2 separate regions of the Homo sapiens genome follow, and region 2 is linked to region 1. The links are contacts of gene promoters, found by promoter capture Hi-C in human tissues and cell types (Jung and others, 2019). All regions are on one chromosome and are shown on one strand. The core of a region is centred on a gene start or on the middle of the fragment in contact, and the rest is flanking DNA. Distances in the headings are between cores, read along the strand shown.

The links. Contacts are between HindIII fragments. The study calls those that stand out against the background at their distance.
Region 2: a contact is called between a fragment that was not itself captured here and the fragment with the promoter of MCM10 in region 1, in 1 of the 25 tissues and cell types used here (thymus).

Annotation. Positions count from the first base shown.
Region 1 is chr10:13,158,112-13,164,022 of GRCh38, reverse strand. It overlaps MCM10 (minichromosome maintenance 10 replication initiation factor), which reads right to left and starts at 2,465. Exons shown (of 20, transcript NM_018518.5): 1 at 2,417-2,465. It also overlaps the pseudogene BTBD7P1 and the pseudogene RPL36AP36. RefSeq lists silencers at 2,201-2,380, 2,403-2,716. The HindIII fragment of the contact is 5,218 bases long and covers 1,532-5,911 here.
Region 2 is chr10:14,187,888-14,193,484 of GRCh38, reverse strand. The region is part of intron 2 of FRMD4A (FERM domain containing 4A); the gene reads left to right. Among named protein-coding and RNA genes, the nearest start is that of FRMD4A-AS3, 120 kb to the right of the region's middle. The HindIII fragment of the contact is 7,611 bases long and covers 1-5,597 here.

The DNA of each region.
Region 1 (5,911 bases), core at 1,216-3,715:
AGAATTCATCCAGAATCTGACCATTTCTCACCTCCTCTCTCCACACCGCCAATGCCATCTCCTTCCTTGGATGTAGCAGCTCACTTTTACTTGTGTTTAAGGTTACAGAAAGTTATTGAGCTGCAGAGCAGTTTGTAAATCACACTAGATTACGTGGATGAGATAAATTATGAGGAAGAACTATTGGGGTTGGCTAGGTACAGTGGCTCAACGCCTGTAATACCAGCACTTTGGGAAGCTAAGGTGGGCGCATCACTTGAGGCCAGAAGTTTGAGACCAGCCTGGTCACATAGCAAGACCTTGTCTTTTTTAAAAATTACACACACACACACACAAATTATTGGGGTCGATCTACATTAGGCTATTCTTTCATTTTATTCACTGTAATACACCTGACATCTGCGTTATCCACGACAGCTTACTGTATGATTCTACTTAGGTGGAGCCTTAGTGACAATCAGGATTTTGATTCAATACTAGTCAGCAAAGCACAGAGAAACAGCGTAGCTAATTAAGACAAAGTTGTATCACTTTGTGCACTTCTCTTTTCATTTAAGGTTATTTTTTAAACTGCAAGTAAGAAAGTATACATTTTTCTAGGCTCTTATTTAACTTACATGTGCTCTTTGGCAAGTTCAATGTCAAGGAACTAATTACAGTGATTATGGTACTTTCTTTTCTTTTTTTAGACAGGATCTCGCTCTGTCGCTGGGGCTGGAGTGCAGTGGTGCTATTGGCTCACTACAACCTCCGCCTCCCAGGCTCCAGTGATTCTCCTGCCCCAGCCTCCCAAGTAGCTGGGATTACAAACGTGCACTACCACACCCGGCTAATTTTTGTGTTTTTTGTAGAGACAGGGTTTCGCCATGTTGCCCAGGCTGGTCTTGAACTCCTGATGTCAAGTGATCCATCAGCCTTGGACTCCCAAAGGTGCTTTTTTTTTTTTTTGAGACGGAGTCTCTGTCACCCAGGCTGGAGTGCAATGGGGCGATCTTGGCTCACTGCAAGCTCCGCCTCCCGGGTTCACGCCATTCTCCTGCCTCAGCCTCCCGAGTAGCTGGGACTACAGGCGCCCGCCACCACGCCCGGCTAATTTTTTGTATTTTTAGTAGAGATGGGGTTTCACCGTATTAGCCAGGATGGTCTCGATCTCCTGACCTGGTGATCCGTCCGCCTTGGCCTCCCAAAGCGCTGGGATTACAGGCGTGAGCCACCGCGCCTGGCCGCTTTTTAAAAATTCATTCAACCAACATTTCCACGGATCCCTCATGTGCCACACACTGTGCTATCTACTGGGGAACCTATTGGACAGTAAGCTTCCTGAGCGTTAGGAGCAAACTGTCTCGTTCAAGTCTGTAACCGGCCTTGCCTTCCCCCAAAATGAAACTGTGCACCCTCCCTCGCCCTCAAATCCACGGCCACTGACAAGTACTGTGGTCCCATCTCCAAAACACTGCTCAAATCTGCCACTTCTCTCCAACTTCACTGCCAGAACCCTAGGCCAAGCCACCGTCAACCTTTAACCCAATGACTGTGTTAGCTTTCTATGTTGGTCTCTTTGTCCCCGTGCAATCTGTTCTGCATACGACAGCCACGGTAATCTTCCCTTTCCTTAGTAACCTTTAGGAACATAAATCAGATCATGGGGGTCCCTTCATTGAAATTCTTTAATGATTTTCCATTGCCCTTAGAAAAAATCTACAAAGCCTGCGAGGCAATGATTCATATTCTCTCTCTCTTTCCAAGCTTTCTACTCCCTCACATTTTCCACAATCCACCACGTCCAATTCTACCCACCCCGACACCCATAACGATGCTCCAGCCGGGCCAGCCCGCTTCCACCTTCTGGAACACACTAAGCTGCTTTGAGGTCTCAGGCTCTGTCGAAGAAAGCTCCCCCCAGGTCCTTCTCGCCCTTCGGTCTCCACTTACTCATCTTTCTGAGACTTTCTGGACCACCCTGAGTCGTCCACTGTCGTGCATTTGTTTACTACCTGCTCGTGCCTTTAAACTGTAAGCGCTGTGAAGGCAGCGGAAATGTGATCCGAGCCATGCACACCGTCCGCATTCAATAATCATTGGCAAATCATGAATACGAGAAACCAATGAATGAATGAATGAATGAATGAATAAAAGAAAGCCCAGGCGGCAGGCACTTGGCAAGCACTTAAAAGGCTGCGTTTAAAAGGAAGAACCCGATTCCTTAGTAGACGGCCAGCAACTCCCAGCCCCCGGCCCGGCCATGCCAGCTCCGAGCGGTCCCAAGCTGCCGCCAAATCCAGATCGCGCCCACCCGAGCTCCCGGGACCCCGCGCCTCTAGCCTCGGACCCCTTGCAACCCGCGCAGAGACGTGCGAGGCGGCCCCGGCCCCGCCGCCCGAGGGTCACACGCACGCCCGGGGCCCGCGCTCCTCACCCGATGCCGGGACGCCTTCTTCGTTCACAGCTGAACCCGCCAAAATTCCAACCGGATCCCGCCCCTGCCTTGACGTCAGACGCACGCGGCTGTGGGGCAGCACTGACTGGCTACGCCAGCGAATCCCGGCCCTGGCACAGAGCAATCGGATTGGTTTACGTCATTGGACGCCCTCTTTGTTGGGGGCAAGGGACCTTCCTGTCGGTAGAAGCCAGTCTCCTTTAGGTAAAATAGAGTGTCTGGCGCCCCCTGGTGCCGGGAAGTTTAAGTCATCCCACCCAGTATTTTCCCTGCGGTCCCATCCCACCTCAACTCCTGACGCTCTGGGACCGACTGTTCCTTTGTCAGCCTTATGTCCATTCGAAATGTTTGGGCTCAGGACCAAACAGATCCGGTCCACTTTTACCCTGTCTGACCTTGGGGAAGTGACTTATCTCTCTGAGTTTCCCCTTCACCATCTGTGCAGTGAGGGAAAGGGTAGATGACATCTTTTACACTGAAACCACCATTTCCCGAGTAATTCCTGTTCCATAGATTTTGGGACTTCTAAGGGGCGTCAGGGCTGAAGAGAACTTATCAGCAGACCATATCTTTCACAGATTTTTTTTTCAGTAAAATTCAGGCCTCTTTATGTATTTACATTCTAAAAAATAGTGTTTGTACATAATACTAAGAACATAGTTTCTAAATGCAGAATAACATTTAGCTTTTACATAATTTCAAGGGATTGATAGCAGAAGAGACTTTGATGGACCAAATGGCCACTTTAAGTCTTTCCCCCCTTTTCCTCCTTGCAGACACTGTTCAGGCACTGCAGTTCCCCCACTAATAATCCCTTTGGTATAAGATCCTATCTCTATCCACTACGTACTTTCATTTTCAGAACAATTAAAATCGACTTTAGGAAGACTGAAGATAAACAGTCCTGATGCCATCTACGTTGACTTTTTTCTGTGTCCTAATGGAATATTACTGCTCCATTTATGAGCTCAGCCCTATTACTTAAACCTATATTGGCTCAGGAATAGGAATACAACCATTTCTGAGAGCTGCTAGTGTTAAAAATTCATAGTAATGGAGGAACTCTAGTAATCAAATTGAAAAAGTATGTTTAAATGCGTACTTTTAAACATACGGCACTAAGGCCGGGCACGGTGGCTCACCCCTGTAATCCCAGCACTTTGGGAGGCCGAGGTGGGTGGATCACGAGGTTAGGAGTTCGAGACCAGCCTGGCCAACATGGTGAAACCCCATCTCTACTAAAAACACACACAACACAAAAATTAGCTGGGCGTAGTGGTGCGCGTCTGTAATCCCAGCTACTTGGGAGGCTGAGGCGGAGAATCGCTTGAACCTGGGAGGTGGCGATTGCAGTGATGAGCCGAGATCTCGCCACTGCACTCCAGCCTGGCGACAGAGCCAGACTCTGTCTAAATAAATAAATAAATAAATAAATAAATAAATAAATAAATGCATCACTACATCTAGTTATTAAAAAAAAAAGATTCGTCATAGATTTATTCTTAGCCATTATGCAGAAATTCCTTGACTAATTCTGATCAGTACTCTGAAGTTCTTTTCTTCACCTTCACTTTCCAGGTCCTCTTTGCATCCAGTTCCGGGCAAGGAGTCAGAAACAGAACCAACCTAAGCCCGCAAACCTTCCTTAAGTGAAGAATCAAGCACTTTTTATTGGAATTAGTATAGTGGTGACTTTGAGAAAAGAAGTGGAGGTGATTTTGAGAAACAATTAGGCAAATAGATTTTTTAAAATCCATTGAATGTGGCTTTTCCGTGCCGATAGCGCTCACACAAACATTACGAAGTTTCCTAAAACCCGCCAGACTTTCTATAAGAAGTGTGGCAAGCACCAACCCCACAAAGTGACACTGTACACGAAGGAGAAGGATTCTCTGTATGCCCAGGGAAAGCGGCGTTATGACAGGAAGCAGAGTGGCTATCGTGGGCAAATTAAGCCGATTTTCCAGGAAAGGGCTAAAACTACAGAAAATTGTGCCAAGGCTTGAGTGCGTTGAGCCCAGCTGCAGCTCTAAGAGAGTGCTGGCTATTAAAATATGCTAGCATTTTGAACTGGGAGGAGGTAAGAAGAGAAACGGCCAAGTGATCCAGTTCTAAGTGTCATGTTTTCTTTTATTATGAAGACAATAAAATCTTGAGTTTATATTTTTAAAACATCCATTGAATGTGGAGATATTAGCGAGAAGGAAGCAGAGAGGGGATGGGGAGACAGGTTTAGGATGACTGTTAGGTTTCTGATTTATACAATAGGGTCGTTTTTGAGGTTGTGCACTGAAGTAGGAGACATAGGAAGAACGGAACAGGTTTAGGGGAGAAGATAGATTTAGTTTTCTATTTCAGAATGAGATGTATGAGAGATGCTGATTAAGAAAGGCACGGTAGCCAGCTTGATCTCCAGATCTGGGGTTCTAAGGAGAGGCCTGGACTCTCCTTAGAATACAAACGAAGGCCAAAAAAGAACAGCTCTGACAGTTATCAACATCTATCTAAAATGAAATCTAAAGCAAACAGCCCATATTGCAGTGGTCCTTAACCTTTTTTGGGCGGTAGGAGGATGTTTATCACAGACCCCTTTAATGTATTAAAAGTGGGCCGGGCACGGTGGCTCATGTCTGTAATCCCAGGACTTTGGGAGGCCGAAGCTGGCAGATCACCTGAGGTCAGGAGTTCGAGACCAGTCTGGCCAACATGGTGAAACCTCATCTCTACTAAAAAAAATGCAAAAATGAACCGGAAGTATTGGCGCATGCTTGTAATCCCAGCTACGCGGGAGGCTGAGGCAGTAGAATCGCTTGAACCCGGAAGACGGAGGTTGCAGTGGGCCGAGATCGGCCACTGCACTCCAGCCTAGGCAACAAGAGCAAAACTCCGCCTCAAAAAAACAAAAAACAAAAAAAAACACAAAAAGTCCAAGCCGAGCCCTTCCTGCTCCCTCTAGGAATCAAAATGGCGGCGAGGGAAAACTGGAGCAGTCCCGGAGCCTGAGCCACTGACAGGAGAGGAGAGGGCGGCGGCGGCGGTGGGAGGAGGATGGCGGCGGTGTGCTGGCGCCGGTGCCTGCCGCGGTGCTGGTGGCGGAGGCGGCGGGGGCGACGGCCGAGGTCCCTGCGGCAGCAGCAGCAGCGGCGGCGGGAGGAGCCTCCAGGTCGATTGAACTGTGGATGAGGAACCTACGGAATACGAAGGGCAGACTGTATAGTAAACACTTGAGGATGCTTGCTGTGTGGTTCTTACAGAATGCACTGTCCGTGTGTCTGGCTGCCCACAGCCTTTCATACTTCAATAGTATGCACTAAAGTAAGGTCTAATGGCCCTGTTCTCATAGAAATAGATGGAAAGAGGCTGCTGGATCCAGGGTTGAAGGTTCCTAATGGCCTCTAGGATTATACTCTGAAGAACCCGCAGACGGAATGCCTGAATGACTGAAGAAAATGGGTGCTAATGCATCTCATTATC
Region 2 (5,597 bases), core at 693-3,192, 1.0 Mb before region 1:
TGTGTGTGTGGGTGGGTGGGTGGGTGTATGTATGTATGTGGTAAAACACCAAGAATTAAAAAGCAATGAAATGTGACATTTCCGTTTTCTGGAAGTTTGGTTTGTGATTAATAAGACAAGGTCTCTGGACCCGAAAGTGTTAAGTAAAAATATCAGCAAAGGCTCACTAATGCTTCCATTGCACAGTTCCTGATGTGAGGCACATCACTTGGTGCATTAGTCTCAGTTGATGGATTGATTAATTAAGAGGCAACCTATCAGGGAGAAAGCAAGGTAAAGTACTGTTCATTGGTTTACAGACAGTCTAATGTATTTAGAAATCATCAGGAGTAAGACTGTGTTCTTCCCAAGATCATGATTACCAGAAATCCCATTCAAACAAAAAATAAAATTAGCCATGGATGGCCCAGGGTAGAATTTCTGAAAACAGTATTTAACTTGACCTAGATATTGACAAGGATAACAGTGCAGTCCTTGATGTTGGAGTCAGCAAATACACGCTGTTACTCTTTATTTCTTTTTGTGGCATTACTGTCTGTGCAAATATATTTAGTTCATATTGCTATGTACACAGCAGTGACAACTGCACCCTATTGGTGTGATTAGAAATGCAACAGTGAATAAATAAATCATCCTTTGTGACCCCTGGAAGAAAAAGTTGATGCAAAAATGCTTAAAAACTCTTTGAAGGAATTCATTACGTTTTAGAATTCAGTAACCTAGAGGGGAGATGTTCATTCCTGGAAACTCACAGAATAAAATCACACCTTGGTAATACCATGTTCACTGATGTACTTGAGCTTATTGTATAATACTGTGGAGGGAACAAGAAGGCTCTTCTTTGGAGAGGTTTAAGGAGGAGATGAAAATACATAAGTCCAAGAGATCCTGAAGCTCTCTTAAGGAAAGAGGTTAAAAAAAGAAGGTTCTTAATACACATGAAGATTTGGAGAGGCTGATGCTGCAAGAATAAAAGGAATGTGGAGGAATTTATCTCACAACAGTGCACCACTGTAACAGGTTTCTTTTAGCAGAGTTTTGTTATGTGAATGTATATTTCCTGATATTTACACTTTCCCATTTTTGCTTCTAAGCTAATTAGGTTATAAGAGCTGTTACTCTAAACAAGTTAATCAATCTCTTTCAACATCTTCCAAATAAGATAAGCAAAACAGGTGTGTGTGGATACACACTGATATTCAAAATGGTCTGTGTATACAGCTACACAAAACCCAGTTAGCAATTCTTACAAAGAAAAAAGTGGAGAATTAGATATGTTATTCTCCATCCAAAAGAATGATTTCATATAAAGCCTAGAAAAGTCAGTGAATTGGAATTCCCTTGGATGATAAGGGGATGGTGACTTTCAGGGATAAAAACCACCAAGGAGGTAGCTGTGCACCTTTGGCTGGGGCTCAGAATTGTTGATTATTAGCAACTCTGGCTTAAAGTGTGGTCAGTTAAGACCAGTGGAGGTTAAAGCCTGGTTGAAATGTCAACCGGGGATGTGAAAAAGTGGTCTGGTGGAAGTGGAGACAGTGAGTGAGAAAATAATTTTAATTATAGAATAAAGAAAAAACAGGAAGCAAGAATGAAGAAACATCTAGGAAAGTATAGAAAGAGTTGTAATCACTCATGAGGAGATGAAGCATTTGCCAGGAGAGAGAGAGAGAGAGAGAAAAAAAAAAAACAGCCAGTTGAGCTGAAAACTCCTATCTAAATATGAAAGCAGGGAATATATTCTGAGGCTGGAAATATTCATCAATGTGTTAAATGTCACACATTCTAAAAATATGAGATAGATTTCAACGGCCCTATAGTTAAAGACTGATGATTGGAATATCGCTTTTATGATGCCATAGCAATTCACATGGTTCTTAAGTCTCCATAGCAACAGCCGATACTACTTTTTGTTCTCTTGTGTAGTCACATGATGCTGGATGCACTGCATAAACAGAGGGGAGCGGTCGATTGTATTTCTCAATTAGTGACAGAGAGACCAGGGGTCATGAGACAGGACTTTTATTGGGATTGGTCCTGGGTCTTGTAAACTATGGCTGTCCCTTGATATCCTTTCTCTTAGGAGCTGGCACTTCTACTGGCTGTTCACCTTTGACCCCATTAGCCTCTGCTTTCTCTCAACGACTGTTGTTTTATGAGTTGTGTGTCCATTTAGATAAAATTCTCTCAAAGCAGAAGACCCTTTCTGTTTGGGATTCCCAACTGAAACCATGCCCCAAAGAGTTAAAGAAGCCAATGGCTAACTTCTTGGGCTTAGAGGATAACACACATAAGAAAAGCAAAAACTTGCTGAAAAGCTGAAACTGAGACTATGCCCCCAAGAGTACAACCAGTAACTAACAAAAATTCTTGAGTGTGCAGGTTAACATATAAGACAAGAAACCTCTCACTGCGACACTAAAACTCTCTCCACCTGTGAGATAAAAGAACTGGCTAAAGTTGGTTGGAACCAATATGGCTGACTGGGGTCTGCACGGAACCAGCTTGCTGACCTCACAGCCTGAATTCCCACCCATGTTTCACACTAACTTCCTCCAAATTTGCACACAAAGCCCCAGGAGGCATCACGAATAGATAACTGCGCATGCCCAAGGACTTTCCAGACTTCCTGCTTCCTTCCATCAGTCACCTGCTTATCCCCAAATCCACCCCCTGAAACTTTTCCATTAAAAAATACTGCCTTGGAGCCAGCACAGATAGACAGATTTGAACTTGACTCCTGTCTCCTTGTGAGTAGACTTGCAATATAAAGCTTTTCTTTTCTCAAAAATCCAGTGTTGACAGATGCCGGGGCTCACGCCGGTAATCCCAGCACTTTGGGGGACCAAGGTGGAAGGATTGCTGGAGGCCAGGAATTTGAGGCCAGACTGGGCAACACAAGAAAACTCCAGCTCTACAAAAAATTTATTAGCCAGGTGTGATAGCATGTGCCTGTGGTCTCAAATACTTGGGAGGCAGAGGTGGTCTCAGCTACTCGGGAGGCAGGATCGCTAGAGCCTTGGAGACTGAGGCTGCAGTGAGCTATGATGGCACCACTGCACTCCAGCCTGGGCAACAGAGCAAGACCCTGACTCTAAAAAATGAACAAAAAACAAACAAACAGAAAACCCGGTGTCATAGTATCGGCTTCCAGCACATCCAGCAGTGAGCCCTTTTTTCTGGTAATACAGTTGTCTTGAAAATGGTAGAACTACCAACATGAGAGGGGTGGTCATTTGCTGTGAAGAAACTACTGTTTTCACTTCAGGATGAGCAACAAACTCGTCTGCTAGGGCGAGGGCATACTGTTGCATCAGAATCTGTTCCACAGTTTTTCTGTCTGTAAAATGGGAGTGATAACCAAAACCGTTTTCTTAGTCAAAGGGTAGTGTCTATGAGACATTTAGACAAGTTTTGTCAAATATATTTTGGAAAGTGGTGTACGTGTGGGGAGAACCTGATTTACTGCCTTAGGCTTATGTATTAGAGGTATCAAGGTGCTTCATGTTTTAGCCTAGAGTCAGAGAGCGCCCTATGAAGTTTGCAAGCATAATTAAGATAGATAGAAATCTCTCCTGAGCTCTCATTAAATTTATAAGGATTTTCCTACTGAGGCCGACTCAAATTCCCAACACTTTTGCCATTGTTCTCATTAATGAGCATCAGGCTGAGTTAAGATCTGTCTAAACTCACCTTGACATTGGCTGTTTTTCAGTGGCAGTCAGAAGTTTATGGGCTCTAGTCCTAAGTGATGACACTAACATCTGTTACCCTGACTGAATCAATTCCCTCTTTTTGTTTATTTTTTTCTTTATAGGAGAGGATATTTATACAAGAACAAAGAATGTTACTTGGTACAGAGAAGGCAGTCTGTAAATATTCATTATCTTCCTCCTCTTTTTTCTTTTTTGAAATGGAGTTTCACTCTTGTTGCCCAGGCTGGAGTGCAATGGTGCAATCTCAGCTCACTGCAACCTCCGCCTCCCAGGTTCTAGCAATTCTCCTGTCTCAGCCTCCCGAGTAGCTGGGATTACAGGTGCCCGCCACCACACCTGACTATTTTTTGTATTTTTAGTAGAGACCAGGTTTCATCATATTGGTCAGGCTGGTCTTGAACTCCTGACCTCAGGTGATCCACCCACCTCTGCCTCCCAAAGTGCTGGGATTACAGGCGTGAGCAACCGCGCCGGGCCCATTCTCTTCCTCCTCTTACCCCTTTTTCCACCTCAAATTCTTGCATTTCTGGCATTTTGCTATTGGGATTTCAAAGGTTTGCCAATGATGTAGGCATGTTTGGAGCTAAGGGTGACATCGTAGCAATGCTGCAGCATCATCACTGACGCGAGATGTTAAGCTCTCACTGTCTATAGGACACCATACACAGAGGTGGAAATACACAGCCATGAGACCTTGTGCTTGAGGGTTAAAATACAGATCAGGGTTAAAAGATAACAGCACAAGGTAACTTAAGCTAAATGTCAAACAGGCAGTGAAGACAAACAGAGGTGAGCTGGGTTGCTCAGGGAAAGCTTCCCAGAAAGGAGTTGTTTTGGGCGGGATTTTGTTTGGTTTTGTTTTTGAGACAAAACCTCGCTCCGTTGCCCAGACTGGAGGTCAGTGCTGCAATCACCGCTCATTGCTGCCTTAACCTCCCAGGCTCAGGCGATCCTCCCACCCCAGCCTCCCAAGTTACTGGGACCACAGGCGCATGCCACTGGTGCTCAGCTAATTTTTTGATTTTTCGTAGGGACGGGGTCTCACTATGTTGCCCAGGTTTGTCTCAAACTCCTGGGCTTAAGTGAGCCTTCCACCTCAGCCTCTCAAAGTCTGAGCTACTGTGCGCAGCCAAGGAAAGGAGTTGATGAGGACTTTGAAGAAAGCTAATGTCTATTGAGGGCTTATTAAGTAATGGACATTGGGTCTTGGCCTGCTTTATCTCTTTGATTAAAGTTTGGATTCTGGAAAAGGACCTAAAGGTAGAAAGGTGGGACTGATTGAAGAGGGAATGATTGGATAATGAGTTTGGCAGGCGGGAGGCAAATAGGAAAGGAGACGGCACATGATTCTAAAAGCCAAAGTGAAGAGCTTGTATAATGAGAAGCTATTATACATTTTCAATAGGGAGTGCTATGTGCCCAATTGTAGGATTTCAGTGGGAAGCATTCAAGTCTGAGAAAAGCAACCAAACCACACAAAGAGCCCAGGCAGCAAGCAGGTCATGGGTCCTTGGCACAGGGGGAGAGGCAGGCGTCCAGAAAGGTTGACTTGAGAATCCAGTCATTTTTTATTTGATTCCAGGCATTTTGTGGAAAAGGTCCAGTAAGTAATGAAATAAGTCATTTTTACATGAAAAACAAAAGGCTGACCAGAAGAAAGATTAGCATCAAGGACAGCACCTGGAGAGTCTAAGGAAGGAGCTCCTTTGGGGGAAAGGAGGTTAGAGTTTTAAGTGTATTCAGCATGGAGAGGCTACAAGGAGGTGGAGATACCTTCCCAATAGGACACTAGAGATGGGAAAATTGTATTGTGGGAGCTGCCTGAATGCATTCCATCGTCATCTCCCGGGAAAACTGGGAACCCCACTGTCCCAAGGCCCA